2 separate regions of the Homo sapiens genome follow, and region 1 is linked to region 2. Evidence: promoter capture Hi-C in human tissues and cell types (Jung and others, 2019). All regions are on one chromosome and are shown on one strand. Each heading gives the region's core, a stretch centred on a gene start or on the middle of the fragment in contact. The rest is flanking DNA. Distances are from core to core; before and after follow the strand shown. Region 1 overlaps USP45 (ubiquitin specific peptidase 45). Region 2 holds the start of FAXC (failed axon connections homolog, metaxin like GST domain containing).

Evidence for each region. The method cuts DNA at HindIII sites, captures the fragments that hold promoters and counts their contacts. A contact is called where the count stands out against the background at its distance.
Region 1: a fragment that was not itself captured here is called in contact with the fragment with the promoter of FAXC in region 2 in 1 of the 25 tissues and cell types used here (H1 embryonic stem cells).

The regions. Positions count from the first base shown.
Region 1 is chr6:99,507,372-99,514,240 of GRCh38, reverse strand. It overlaps USP45 (ubiquitin specific peptidase 45), which reads left to right. Exons shown (of 18, transcript NM_001346022.3): 2 at 4,011-4,120; 3 at 5,459-5,631; 4 at 6,710-6,813. The coding sequence starts at 4,021. Among named protein-coding and RNA genes, the nearest start is that of USP45, 4.6 kb to the left of the region's middle. The HindIII fragment of the contact is 6,905 bases long and covers 1-5,463 here.
Region 2 is chr6:99,345,994-99,352,892 of GRCh38, reverse strand. FAXC (failed axon connections homolog, metaxin like GST domain containing) reads left to right here and starts at 3,219. Exons shown (of 6, transcript NM_032511.4): 1 at 3,219-3,786. The coding sequence starts at 3,521. RefSeq lists silencers at 2,870-2,949, 3,010-3,059, 3,130-3,189 and enhancers at 4,381-4,945, 5,836-6,336, 6,337-6,837. The HindIII fragment of the contact is 6,681 bases long and covers 791-6,899 here.

The DNA.
Region 1 (6,869 bases), core at 762-3,261, 160 kb before region 2:
TAAGGAGCCTACACGTGATTCCTCCAGACTCCGCTTGTGTCTTTTTCTATTATGATGAGCCTTTATATCCATACTGCATTGTGTAATAAATGTCAGCCATGAATTCAACTATATGTTGAGTCCCGTGCATCCTATCAAAGCTCTAAATGTGGGGGAGATCACGGAGATCCTCAGCCACAGTTTTGTAAATTTGTATAAAGGTAAGGGATATAAGTGCCGTTTTTTTACGAGGATATATTTCCTAGTGGTACTGGGCTTTTAGTGTAACCATCACCTGAATAATGTACATTGTGTCCATTAAGCAATTTCTCATTCCTCACCCCACTCCCATCCTTCCCAGTCTCCAGTGCCCAGACACAATTTTGATGATAAAAAGTATTGGAAGCTCTAATAATTGGACTTTTAATTTTGCCCTTTTGCCTCAAATGGAAATTGGAAAACTACAGATAAATAATTGCCGAATTCTGGGTTACTGTACCAAATGATTCTGTCTGTTTAGACATTACATATGGCAGAAAAATCATCAGAAATTGCCTCTACATTACCAAGTTAATTTTGAGTCAGTGTTTTTGAAAAAAGGCACAGGTTGCTTACAGTATGTAGGTCAAATGCCTGGTTTTGTTTATTATTTTGCTAGCATTATCTGTGTTAATGCTCATCTTTATCAAGAGCTTATCTGTACCACAGCGAGAAAATATAATCAGTTTCTCATAGGCCATTTTCCCTGTACTTTATTAGTTATACCTATCTCTTTTCAGGACATCAAATTTAAATTGATGGAGGTAGGTTTGCAAATTTGGGGTTAGAAAGATCAAATTTGCCGTCTGCTTATGTCTCTTTTCCCTTATAAAAGACTAGATCAGTTTTTGGTAAGTTAGTTGGGAGTTGGAGGGGTTAGAGGTTTGAGGAAAGTGAAGAAGATTTGAAATGGCTCTGTGGATAGTATGTAAGTTGACCAGAAGGTGAAGTGAATAATAATGGACCTAGTCTGCTTTCTTAAGAGACTTTCTCCCGACATGGAGAAAATGGTTAATTGGGTTCATCTAGGATTGGGTTCTGCGAGAGAGGTGATGTAGTCCTTAAGGCTCTGCACAAGTATTCCGGTTCACCTATTTTTGGGTACATGTAATGCTGCACTCTTTGTACATGGGCAACCCCTCTCCATGTCTGCTTGAAGTTAAATGTGCCATGTGACTTGCTTTAGGAAGCAGCTCTCCATTTGCCATTTCCACTTCTCCCTGCCCTGCTGTAAGGGTCATGGAAGGACTTGTTGAGATGCAGCCTCTTGTCAGCCTGGACACTATAGGAAAATATGAGTGGCTGATCAGGCAAGTTGGAAGAACTGGGAAGTTGCTGTCAGAGAAGGGGATACTTAAATTAGTGATTTTATAAGGTGGAACTGTAGGGGAGAGTAGATGAGGAAGTTTGGAGGGAGAAGGTAGAGATGAAGTGCTCAAGGAACTCAGAGGCTTTTTACATGTTCCTAACCCGGAAGCCCTTAATTTATTGCAACTTAGTTCAGTAGTGATGACCGTTGGACTTAATGGTAAACTTGAAAGCTCCCTTATTGTGAATTATGGAATGAATAAATCAAGATTTGGAATTTAGTACTGAATTGAAAGATTCATTACCTTGATCATTGAGAAGTAAGTCAGCAACCATGAAAATTGCGATGTTGCTTAGCCACCAGGCAGGAGAGTAAAAGGTAGGCCAAGCTACTCTAACAGAGACTCCAAAATATAGTAGTTTTAAAAAATGCTTAGCTTGTATCTAAAATCTTTGATAATTAACTGAATTTTTAATAAATATAAGGGATAGAGGTAAATAACACTATGAAGAAAGAGACAAATTCAGTGTGAGACATTATATAACTTTGCTGTCGAAAGAGTATTCTATGGGCCCCCAGCAGTGGCTTCAGTTAGAAGCTTTTTAGGTAGGTAGAATCTCAGGTCTTGTGCCAGACTTGTTGCATCAGAACTTTCATTTTAACAAGACCCTCAAGGTGACTCATGCACTGGCCTGATCTCTTTAAAAAGCTAAAGTCTTAGGCAAGTAACAGGTTGGAAGAACTGTTCTGTTAATAGATTAAAAGATACTAAAGAGACATAACCAATATCAAGTGCAAACCTTGATTGAATCTTTTTCAAAAAACCAGCTATAGAAGACAATTTAGGGTCAACTAAGGAAATTAGAATATGATGGAATATGAGATGATATTAGAAAATTATTAATTTTCTTAGATATGATTACATTGTTATATAGGAGAATGTGCTTATTTTTAAGAGATACATGCTGAAGTATTTAGGGATGAACTGTCAAGATCTCTACAACTTTCAAATAGTTCAACTATGTGTATATATATATATATATATATATATATATATATATATATATACACACACTCACATACATATATGTGTCTCTCTATACACACATATTGATATTTAGATAAAAACAAACATAGCTAATTGTTAATAGGTGTGGAATTGGTGGGGCACCATGGCTCATACCTGTAATCCCAGCAGTTTGGGAAGCCAAGGCATGTGGATTGCTTGAGCCCAGGAGTTCGAGACCAGCCTGGGCAACATGGGGAAATCCCATCTCTACTAAGAAATACAAAAAAATTATCTGGGCATTGTGGTGTGCACCTGTAGTCCTAGCTACTTGGGAGGCTGAGGTGGGCGTATCACCTGAGCCTGGGGAGGTTGAGGCTGCAGTGAGCTGAAATCAGGCCACTGCACTCCAGCCTGGGCCATCAGAGTGAGACTTTGTCTCAAAAAATAATAATAGCCGGGCACGGTGGCTCACGCCTGTAATCCCAGCACTTTGGGAGACTGAGGTGGGCGGATCACGAGGTCAGGAGATCGAGACCATTCTGACTAACACAGTGAAACCCTATCTCTACTAAAAATGCAAAAAAAATTAGCCAAGCCTGGTGGCACACGCCTGTAATCCCAGCTACTTGGGAGGCTGAGGCAGGAGAATTGCTTGAACCCAGGACGTGGAGGTTGCAGTGAGCCGAGATCCATCTCAAAATAATAATAATAATAATAATAGTAATAATAATATAAATGTGGAATCTAATTAGTATATGAGTGTTCATTATACTGTTCTTTTAACTTTTGTAGATGTTTAAAATTTTTCATGATAAAAAGCTAGAGTGAAAAACCCCCAAAAATGTAGTAGCTTAAAAAGATAGAAATTTAATTTTCTCTTAATATTCCAGTGCTAGTTGTACAACACAGGTATAGAGTGGCTTTACTATGCTTGGCTTACAGCTATCCATTTTTGATCCAGTATGGCTCATCCAGCTCCTACTATTTCCTTGCTAGCAGAAGGGAGGAAAGGGTAAAGAGAACTCATTATCCAGAAGCAATACTTACTCCGTTGATGAAAACTTTAGTTTTGGTCATTCACCTGGACATCATATATTTAGGGGTTGTGTCTTGGTTCAGCCTGGTATAGCAAATTATTATAGACTGGGTGGTTTAAACAACACAGACTTATTTCTCACAATACTGGGAGCTGGGAAGTACAGGGTCAAGATGCTGGCAAATCTAGTATCTGGTGAGGGCCTTCTTCCTGGTTTATAGATGGCCATCTTCTCGTATATCCTCATGTGGATACAAAGGTAGCTTTCTAGCCTCTTATTATAAGAGGCCAGTCTCATTCATGAGGGCTCCACCTACATGACCTAATTACCTCTCAAAGGCTTCACCTCCAAGTATCATCACTTTGGGGATTAGAGTTCAACATATCAATTTGGAGTGGGGACACAAACATTTAGTCCATAATGGTATAGTTGGCAAAAGCCAATGGAATATACCATGTGTATACTGATTTAACAAAGATTTATTTCATTTCAAGTGATGTTCCCCTCTTCTTCCTCTGTTGATTTCCCGGACCAGTTGAAATTGAAGTCATTTCAGTTTTAATACACATTAAATAAAATATAAAATTTTAATTTTGAAGACTAAAATGTATGAATTTTTTTCCCTCAATCCCTTCAGTAAATAACAGATGCGGGTGAAAGATCCAACTAAAGCTTTACCTGAGAAAGCCAAAAGAAGTAAAAGGCCTACTGTACCTCATGATGAAGACTCTTCAGATGATATTGCTGGTAAATTGTGATATATGGCATCCCAAATAGTGTTGAGAAGAAATAACAATGCAGTTGACCCTTCAACAACATGGGTTTGAACGCTGAGGATCAACTTGTACACAAATTTTTTTCCACCAAACCTAGATGGAAAATACACTATTCTTGGGATGCGTGAAAACTGCATACTTGGCAGGCTGACTTCTAAATGCAGATTCCACGGGGCCCACTGCGGGACTTGAGTATGCACAGATTTGGGTATATGTGGGGAGGTCCTAGAACCAACTACCCCACCCCACCTCCCTGCCTCAAGTATCTGAGGGAAGACTGTATATGTTTTTAATTAAGAAATCTGTTACTCTTTATTTTTACTGTTTTCTGCATAAATATTAGAATCACCTTTTCTAGTTCCAAAAAATCCTGTTGGCATTTTTATTAGGATTTTGTTTAGTTTATAACATGAAGTAACTTAGATTGGCTTTTTTTTTTTTTTTGGTCTCTTTCTCATGGCCTATTAAAACCATGTCACCAAGCCACCAGAGCTTGGCAGATGGCTTTTGGGAGCTGCTGGCCTCAGGGCTTGGTTTTCTCTTTAGCCTCATGCTTTTGATTTGGGCCTCTGAGGATTTTCCTCACTTTCTTGCTAGTTCTCTCCATTTAAAGGGATATTTTTAATATATTTTTTCCATTTTAGGTATGCATAGTTGCATACAGCTATACACAAACACACTCACATATGAGTGCCTATGTCTTCTGAAATCCGAATAAGTTCTAAGGATTGTACCAACGTCAGCTTCCTGGTTTTGATATTTTACTATAGCAGTGCAAAACATTAACATCAGGGGAGGCTCAGTGAAGGGTGAATGAGACCTCCTTGTATATTTCTTTATACCTTCCTGTGAATCTAAAATTAGTTCAAAAATTTAAACTCTAATAAATTAGGGACATCAGATAAGGTCCTAATGATATTTAAAGAGATAATTCAGACATCCTTCAGTGCAGCAAACTGGCTATCGAAACATCATCCCATTTTAGTACATGTATAGCTTTGTATAACCACCACCAATCAAGATACTTGACTGTGTCATCACCACTCTATGTGCTGTCCATTTATAGCAACACCCTCTGCCTTGCGTCCATTGCTCCCTACAACCATGAATCTCTTCTCATTCTATAATTATGTTATTTCATGAACATTATATAAATGGAATTATATAGCATATATCTTTTGAGTTATTTTGTGTGTTCAATCTCTGTGCTTTTTAGTTAACAGCATTTAATACTTTTGAGGTTTGCTCAGTAATGGTAGCACTTTGGTGTAGCAAAGAAAATGTTGAGATTTTGTTTTATCTTATTCAGTAGGTTTAACTTGCCAACATGTAAGTCATGCTATCAGCGTGAATCATGTAAAGAGAGCAATAGCTGAGAATCTGTGGTCAGTTTGCTCAGAATGTTTAAAAGAAAGAAGATTCTATGATGGGCAGCTAGTACTTACTTCTGATATTTGGTTGTGCCTCAAGTGTGGCTTCCAGGTAAGAAAAGTATTATTTATATGTGAGTTTGTCTGAAATGTTTTCCTTAAATGCTTATTGTGAGTTGGACTGTTGGTCATGCATAGGAGTTAAGATAAATTTATTCCAATTTAGATAGAAATTTTCCAGGAATGAACTTAAAAATGATTGTTAAGGTAAAGTAAAAGGTATGCTATGTTCAGAAAGTAATCAGGTGTGGTTTATAAATACTTGCAGAGGTAATTCAACCTATTTGCAGTAGTTCCCATATCTGGACCAGTCTTTACCTTTTGTATTTACTTAGGAAATGGATCTACCTTTCAGATTAATTTTTTTCTCTCTCAAAACAGATTATTCTGCTGCTTTTGCAAAGTAATTTAAAATCTTAAAGTTTAAAAGTTATTGATATCTGTAATAAAGGAATTTTTTTAATGAAATTAAAAGTATATACTTTTTTAAAAAAATAAGAGAAATCTTTATTATTTCACACAAAATGTCCAGAAGTAAGGCCACTTCAGGATTAGTTAATTTAATGGAAAGAACATTAAAAACTGAGGTTTATTCTGTTTTCTGCTGTGCCATCCTCAACCTCATGGTTGTGTTCCTCTTAAAAAACAAACAAAAAAAAAGCCTTCTGGAAAGATTCAGCGGATTTGACTTCCCCTCATGTTGCATTAACCAGAATTGCATCTCATTTCTTTACTTACCTAGTGAGGGAAATCGCTATGATTGGTCTGTGTCTCAGTAGTTCTCAGTAGGCTGGGGTGAAGTTGTGTACGGGATTGGGAAATGTGTGTTTGCAGAAGGGCACCACTGGCCTGCCAGGATGCTGGGTGTTCCACAGTGTGCACATTTTTAAATGATAGGGAAATTAACTTTGCCCATGATTGTTTTAGGTAAATACTGTATATTGAGCATGTTAGCCTGTTGGCAAGAAATTAAATTTAATGAGAATCCATATTACTTTTTTGAAACTTTCTCCTCTGGCCTGAAATTAAAAACAAAACTTTTCAGTATAAGTGTGAGTATAATTTAAGTTTTGATTAATTTGAAACAAACATTTGTAAGTCATACAAAATAAAATTCTGTTCATCTTCAGGGATGTGGTAAAAACTCAGAAAGCCAACATTCATTGAAGCACTTTAAGAGTTCCAGAACAGAGCCCCATTGTATTATAATTAATCTGAGCACATGGATTATATGGTAAGTTAAATTTTGTTAGTTCTTGTGTCCACTAACCACAGCCCCCCAATTTTTTT
Region 2 (6,899 bases), core at 1,970-4,469:
TCAATCAATATTAGTTCCTTCTTTTTTCTTGTCTTATAACAACTCAATTAAAGTTAGTTAACAAAAAGTCCTTGAAAAAGAAAAAGAAATTGCCTCTAGTTTGGAGCTAATGTCCATGCGTACGGCACCAAAGCTGTCAAAATTAGTGGTGGTGGTGGTAGAAGGGGTGAAGTAGAGATGCCTAGCCTAGTGCCCAGAGTCTTCAAATTTTCTCACTAACTATAGGAGCCTCAGGAGGAGAGCTGGGGTGCAGACATGCTCAGCTCCTGCACCTTCAGCCTCAGTAGGGAGGCCCTGCATAGCTGCTGTGGCTTCAGCCTGTGACTTGGCTCTACACTAGGGATTCTGAGGAGCCATTCTTTGCAGAATCAGCCTCCTTAGCAACTCTTGTTAACCAAGCTGTGTTTGGTTCCTTTCTACTGAGTTTATCCCACCACCACCACTCCTCTGGGGCTGAGTCCCTTGCCCCTGAGCCTGAGTCTCCCATCTTTCTACAGCTGGCTTGCACCCCTTTGTGGAGCAGCTTTTCCCTCTGAAACTCAGTCTGTCTTTGGATGAAGATTTGGCTGAGGATTGCATCAGTCGGTGCCTTTACAGCTAGAGCTGCTTTCCTTGCTCCCCAAAGGTTTGTTCTGAGGTTCTTCTTTTTTATTTCAGATGGAGTCTCACTCTGTCACCCAGGCTAGAGTGCAGTGGCGCGATCTCAGCTCACTGCGACCTCTGCTTCCCAGGTTCAAGTGATTCTCCTGCCTCAGACTCCCAGGTAGCTGGGGTTACAGGTGCTCGACACCATGCCTAGCTAATTTTTGTATTTTTTTTTTAGTAGAGACACAGTTTCACCATGTTGGCCAGGCTGGTCTCAAACTCTTGACCTCAAGTGATCTGCCCACCTCCCAAAGTGCTGGGATTACAGGCATGAGCCACCCCACCATGCCCGGCCTGTTCTGACATTCTGATACCAAATATTTGTCCAACTCAGATTTGTTGTCTCCTCAGTCTACTCTTCCTCTTTTCATCTTATACAGCCCTAACAATAATCATCTTTTCTCTTCTATGCCATGGATCTAAAAGTTAAAATTTAAGATGCATCAGATTAAGATGACATTTTAGTTTCTCTTGTGGAATTTTATTTTATTTTTATTTTTATTTTTATTGAGACGGTGTCTCGCTCTTGTTACCCAGGCTGGGGTGCAATGGCACAATCTCTCCTCACTGAGACCTCCGCCTCCTGGGTTCAAGCAATTCTCCTGCCTTAGCCTTCCGAGTAGCTGGAATTACAGGTGCTCGTCACCACTCCCGGCTAATTTTTTGTATTTTCAGTAGAGACGGGGTTTCGCCATGTTGGCCAGGCTGATCTCGAACTCGTGACCTTAGGTGATCCACCCACCTTGGCCTCCCAAAGTGTTGGGATTACATGTGTGAGCCACCTGTGCCCAGCCCACATCTGCTTCTTAAAGATGTTCACTGCAGTGTCTCTAAAAATGTAAACCATATTTGAACCAGAGACCAGATGATGCTCAACAGTTGTCTGACACTACCAGGAAGCAGCAGTGGGCCCCTGGCCTGCATGAGTGGGTGGGGCAGGTCACTATGAGTGAGAGTGAATTGTAGTCAGTGGCTTTCTGGGATAAAAATACTACACTTCCTCTGGGTTCTAACTTGTTTTGGGCATAAGGTTTGTCAGGATTGACTCTCCCTTTTGCCTTCCATATTCTTCCACTTAAGGTAATTTATGCCCATCCCCATGTCTAGACCTAGATATGCAAATAATGTGATCCCAAATATCAAACTTATATTCTTTAAATATTGGCTCAGTGTTCACTGAGAGCAAAGACTGAGTGCTCTGTGGGAAGGGCACAGAAGGAGCATGGAGAATCCCTGGTGCCAGCCCTCCTTGTTCCCTCTTCCAGAGCACTGCAGCTTTGGTCCCAGACTTAACTACTCTGCTTCTTGCCGACAAGGCCAGGCAGCCTTCTGGCCTCTCTCCTTGAAAGACCGGCTGGTGACCACCTCAGTCACCCCAGGAGGCCGTTGGGTTTCACTCCTTGCAACCTACTTATGGGAGCCTCACTTAGAACCACACACATTACTTCTTCCTGGGAGGTCACATTTTCCCAGGAGTGTTTGGGGAGTCTCACATGCTGGTGCCTAGGCATCAGCTGACTAGCCCCTCCCCCCGTCTCGTTGAGGCGACACGTCCATATTTATTATTTATTAACAAGACGACCACACTCCTTGCCTGTTCTAAGGGGCGGGTGTGTCAGGAGAGGAAAAAAAGGGGGAGTCCTTTTGCGCCTCAATCTCTGCTCCATAGGCAAGAGCCTGGAGGTTTCTTTTACCCATCCTTCCACCTTGAGAGTGATGAACCTCCACGGCCCGAATCCTTTTTCAGTTCTTCCAAACAATTTAAAACTATCCATGCTCTTGTTAAAATCTGTGCATATATTACAAGCTTCTATTCTTTGTACTTATGAACTTTAATAAATGAAGTTAAAGGAAAAAAATACACTGAACACACACACAGTTGTTAGACAGATTTTCTAAAACAAAAGAGGGACCCCCGTCCCCCAACCGAAACCCTGTATCAGCGAGTTCCCTGATAGTGACTTCAAAGAGGAAAGACTTGAACTGGGTTTGTCAGAGAAATCTCTCTAGGTAGAGTATTTTGTTATTTGCCAAACCAGACATCTCGTCTCTGCGAACACCTGGTCAAGCCCGAGGTAATTGTGTAATGTAATAAGAGTGTTTTTATACATTATGCAAATACGCAGCGCTTTCCTGATGGCCAGAACAATCTGATTCCCGACTTTAATCCTGGCCCACGCTCCCAGCCCCCGCCTGGTGGCGTCTCCTGCCCGCAGCTCCGCGCCGCCCCAGGTGAGTCCTGCGCGTTCCCTACTCTGGGGCCCGCGGGAGGGGCTGGAGCGCAGGCGGAGGGCCGGCCGGGGTAGGGGAGGACCGGGATCCGGGCCCCGACTGCAGCTTCCTCGCGGTGGGGCCGCATTTCCAGGCACCTCCGCCGCCCTTGCCCGCGCGCGGCGAGCGGTTTTTGGGCGTGCCGCCCGGAGGCGCGGAGCCTGCCCGGCGCGCCTCAGCCCTGCAGATCCGGCCCCGGCGGAGGCGGCCGGACCGCGGAGATGCGGGGAGGGGGCAGGGCGCGGGGTAGGTGACTTTATCCCGCCTCTGTTTCCCTGCCCCGGGGAGCAATGACATCACGCGGCCTTCTCCAGGCGCCGACACAAAGAGCGGGGCGGAGAGGCAGCTGCGGGGGGAGCCGGCGGCCGCTGCTGCCGCCCAGGGCTCTGGGGCCCCGCCGGCCAGGCCCGCCGTCCGCGGCCAGTGCCCTTCCTCCTCCTCCTCCTCTGCCGCCGCCTCCTCAGTCGCCGCCGCCTCCTCAGTCGCCGCCGCCCGCGCCGCCCGCGCCCTCCGCGCGCCTCTGAGCCCGCGCCGGGCCGCGCCGGCCCCTTCCCATGCGGGCGGCGCGGGCCCTGGGAGGGGCGCCCGGAGCCAGCCGCGCAGCATGCACTGGGGGGTTGGCTTTGCTTCGTCCAGGCCGTGCGTGGTGGATCTGAGCTGGAACCAGAGCATCTCCTTCTTCGGCTGGTGGGCCGGGTCCGAGGAGCCCTTCTCCTTTTATGGGGACATCATCGCTTTCCCTTTGCAGGATTACGGTGGGATCATGGCAGGGCTGGGCTCCGATCCCTGGTGGAAGAAAACCCTTTACTTGACCGGGGGAGCTTTGCTGGCCGCAGCTGCGTATCTGCTCCACGAACTCCTGGTCATTAGGTGAGCCGGAGAGAGGGCCCCGCACAGGGGCGCAGAGAGGGGCACCTGGCTAGGGCAGGGCTGGCGCGAGAGGGGCCCGTGCCAGCCCCTCGGTCAAGCTGCCCAGATGCCCAAGCGCCCTGCAATTACCTTTCCCTAAAGGCATTTGTGGTCACCTGGCCGTGAGGGGCAGTTTAGAGTTGAAAGGAGAATTAAACCGGTGCTGGGAGGGAAAAACATTTGTCTCCCAAAATGCTCTGGGTCACTTGTCGTTATCTATTAAGAAATGGCCTTAGGAGGATCTAAGTGCAGTGTGTTTGCAACAATAGAATTGGGCCCTGCAGAAATAGGTTACACTTTTATGAAATGCCTTGTTTATAAGTAATAATGCTGGAATATTAACTGCTAACCTTATCTTTTACCTAAAGGTTAGTTCTTCCCTAAATGTCAACATCAAAAGACTGAAAAATTGCAAAAGCTCCAGAAACCTGCGGGTCCCTGTTAAAGATGCATGACCAAGTGTAGTGGTGGGCAGCTTTGATGCAGCCTTAACCTGGTTCTCTGCTTATCTGGTATTGAACGCCAAGCACCATCTTCAGGCTTAGATGTCATTGTTGTGTGAGCAGTAGGACAGGCTAGCACATGGGTGTGTTGGGCACAACACGGAGTCGCCCAGTGCCGTAAACAGTTGCATCCGCTGCCGCAGAATGTTTACAAGATTGAGTTGGAAATACCAGAAAATGGAGGCCCCTGCTGTTGGTACATCCAGCCGGGACGAGATTTTTGTTTGGGTAGAGTAATACCACAGGGCACTGAGACAGTCGTTTGGCTAATTGATACATCAATTAATGGTTAAAATTTCCATGCATTTGAGCCTTCCGTCACTGGAAGATTACCAGAAGCCCAGTTTTCAATAGCTCAGAATGTCTCTTTGCCAGTATTTTCTAAAGTGAGAGAAATGTGTCCACACTGCCTTATTCCAGTGGAGGAATCCTACACAATAGGTTATAAACAAAGACAGTGATAGGTGACCTGTACTAGCCTGCAGGGATCCCAGGAGATTATTGTGATGGCCTAATGTAGGCATTTGGCCTAACGTACATATTTTGAATAGTTCCCATCTCTGAAAGGGTGGGAAATCATTTAGGTTTGGAGAAATGTATTGGTTTTCATATTATTTAGCCATATTTGAGGAAGTTTATTTTAAGCTTGTTGCACATTTAATTCTCTCAACACATTGCCTTGAATCTAGCTGAACCAAACAAAAAAATTTAAAGAGAATTATCTCTCTAGATTATTTGTTAATTGTGCTAGTTTTAGAACTGTATTTCAAGTTAGATTTCAAGCTACCTAAAGAACTAAAACATTTGGGCAGTAATTTAAATGGTAACCCAGTTGTTTCTCAGTTGTATTCTAGTCTAAAGCCTTTGAGGAGATCCCAAACCATGAGGCTTCTCAGCAGTGGAGGGAGTGAAGGCTTCACAGGACCAAGTTTAAAACAAAGCTTAAATGACCTTGCAGAAACAGTGTGGAGCTCAGCTGCCACTCCGGAGTAGGCCCTGCCCTGGCAGGTGTTGTCACTGGAGACTGGAGAGCTCTCTGCCCACAGATAGCTACTAACTCATTTAGGGGACTATATACCTCAGCACTGGATGCTTATTTGGACTAAGGAGTTTAATCCTAGGTTGATTCACACTTTTTCTTCCTTTTTTTTTTTTTTTCTTTTGAGACTGAGTCTCGCTTTGTCGCCCATGTTGGAGTGCAGTGGCTCGATCTCAGCTCATTGCAACCTCCACCTCCCTGGTTCAAATGATTCTCCTGGCTCAGCCTCCTGAGTAGCTGGGATTACAGGCGTGCACCACCGCGTCTGGATAATTTTTGTATTTTTAGTAGAGATAGGGTTTCACCGTGTTGGCCAGGCTGCTCTTGAACTCCTGGGATCAAGCGATCCTCTGGCCTCAGTCTGCTGAGTTGCTGGGATTACAGGCATGAACCATTGCACTTGGCTAATTTTTTTTTTAACTTTTTTGTGGAGATGGGGTCTCACTATGTTGCCCAGGCTTGTCTCAAACTCCTGGCCTCAAGAAATCCTCCCTCCTTGGCCTCCCAAAGTGTTGGGTTTATAGGTGTGAGCCACCATACTTGGCCAGTTTTGTTTCTGGACAAATGTTTGAGTTGAATTAGAAAGCTCTGAAGTAATGCAAACAATAAAAAAGGGCTATTTCTGAATACTTAGTAGGATGGGCTTTGCATGTGTGACTGCATTTATTCCTCACAACTGTTGTTTGTTCATTTCATAGATAAGGAAATTGCAGCTCAGGGAGGTTAAGCAGCTTGCCCAAGATCACACAGTAAGAGTAGTAGGATCTAGATTCAAATCAGAGCCTGCAGTTTTTAACCACTGCCTCTTAGAAAGTACCTACTTTGGCCCGGCGCGCGGCAGCTTACGCCTGTAATCCCAGCACTTTGGGAGGCTGACGCGGGCGGATCACGAGGTCAAGAGATCGAGACCATCTGGCCAACATTGTGAAACCCCGTCTACTAAAAAACAAACAAAAAAACCCCACAAAAATTAGCCTGGCGTGGTGGCACGCGCCTGTAGTCCTATAGCTACTCGGGGAGCTGAGGCAGGAGAATCGCTTGAACCCAGGAGGCGGAGGTTGCAGTGAGCCGAGATGGTGCCACTGCACTCCAGCCTGGCGACAGAGCGAGACTCCGTCTCAAAAAAAGTACCTACTTTGAAATCCGTTTTGTTGGAGGAAGAGGAAGGAAGAGAAATGTGGAGAACTGAAGCATTGCTCAGGGAAGACAGACCTGTATCAGGTGCCTTTCTTGCAGCGTCTAGGGGAAGAGGAGTGGAGGGGCAAAGGGAAAAAAACCAGGCAGGAAGGTCAAAGACCAAGGCTTTAGAGGTTACATGATAACTACCTCCACTTAAGGTGAAATCTAGGTTTCAATAGTCTTTATAATTTAGGCAGAAAACAAAACAAAATCTGAAATATGTAAGATAGAAAATACACCTTAAAATGACTACCCTGAGTTTCTGGCTATTGCAAACTCTTCCCCAGCCTACTTGGATTTTCTGCTGCATAGACATAACCTTAATCTATGACTGTGTCTCTAGAGTGGAAGAG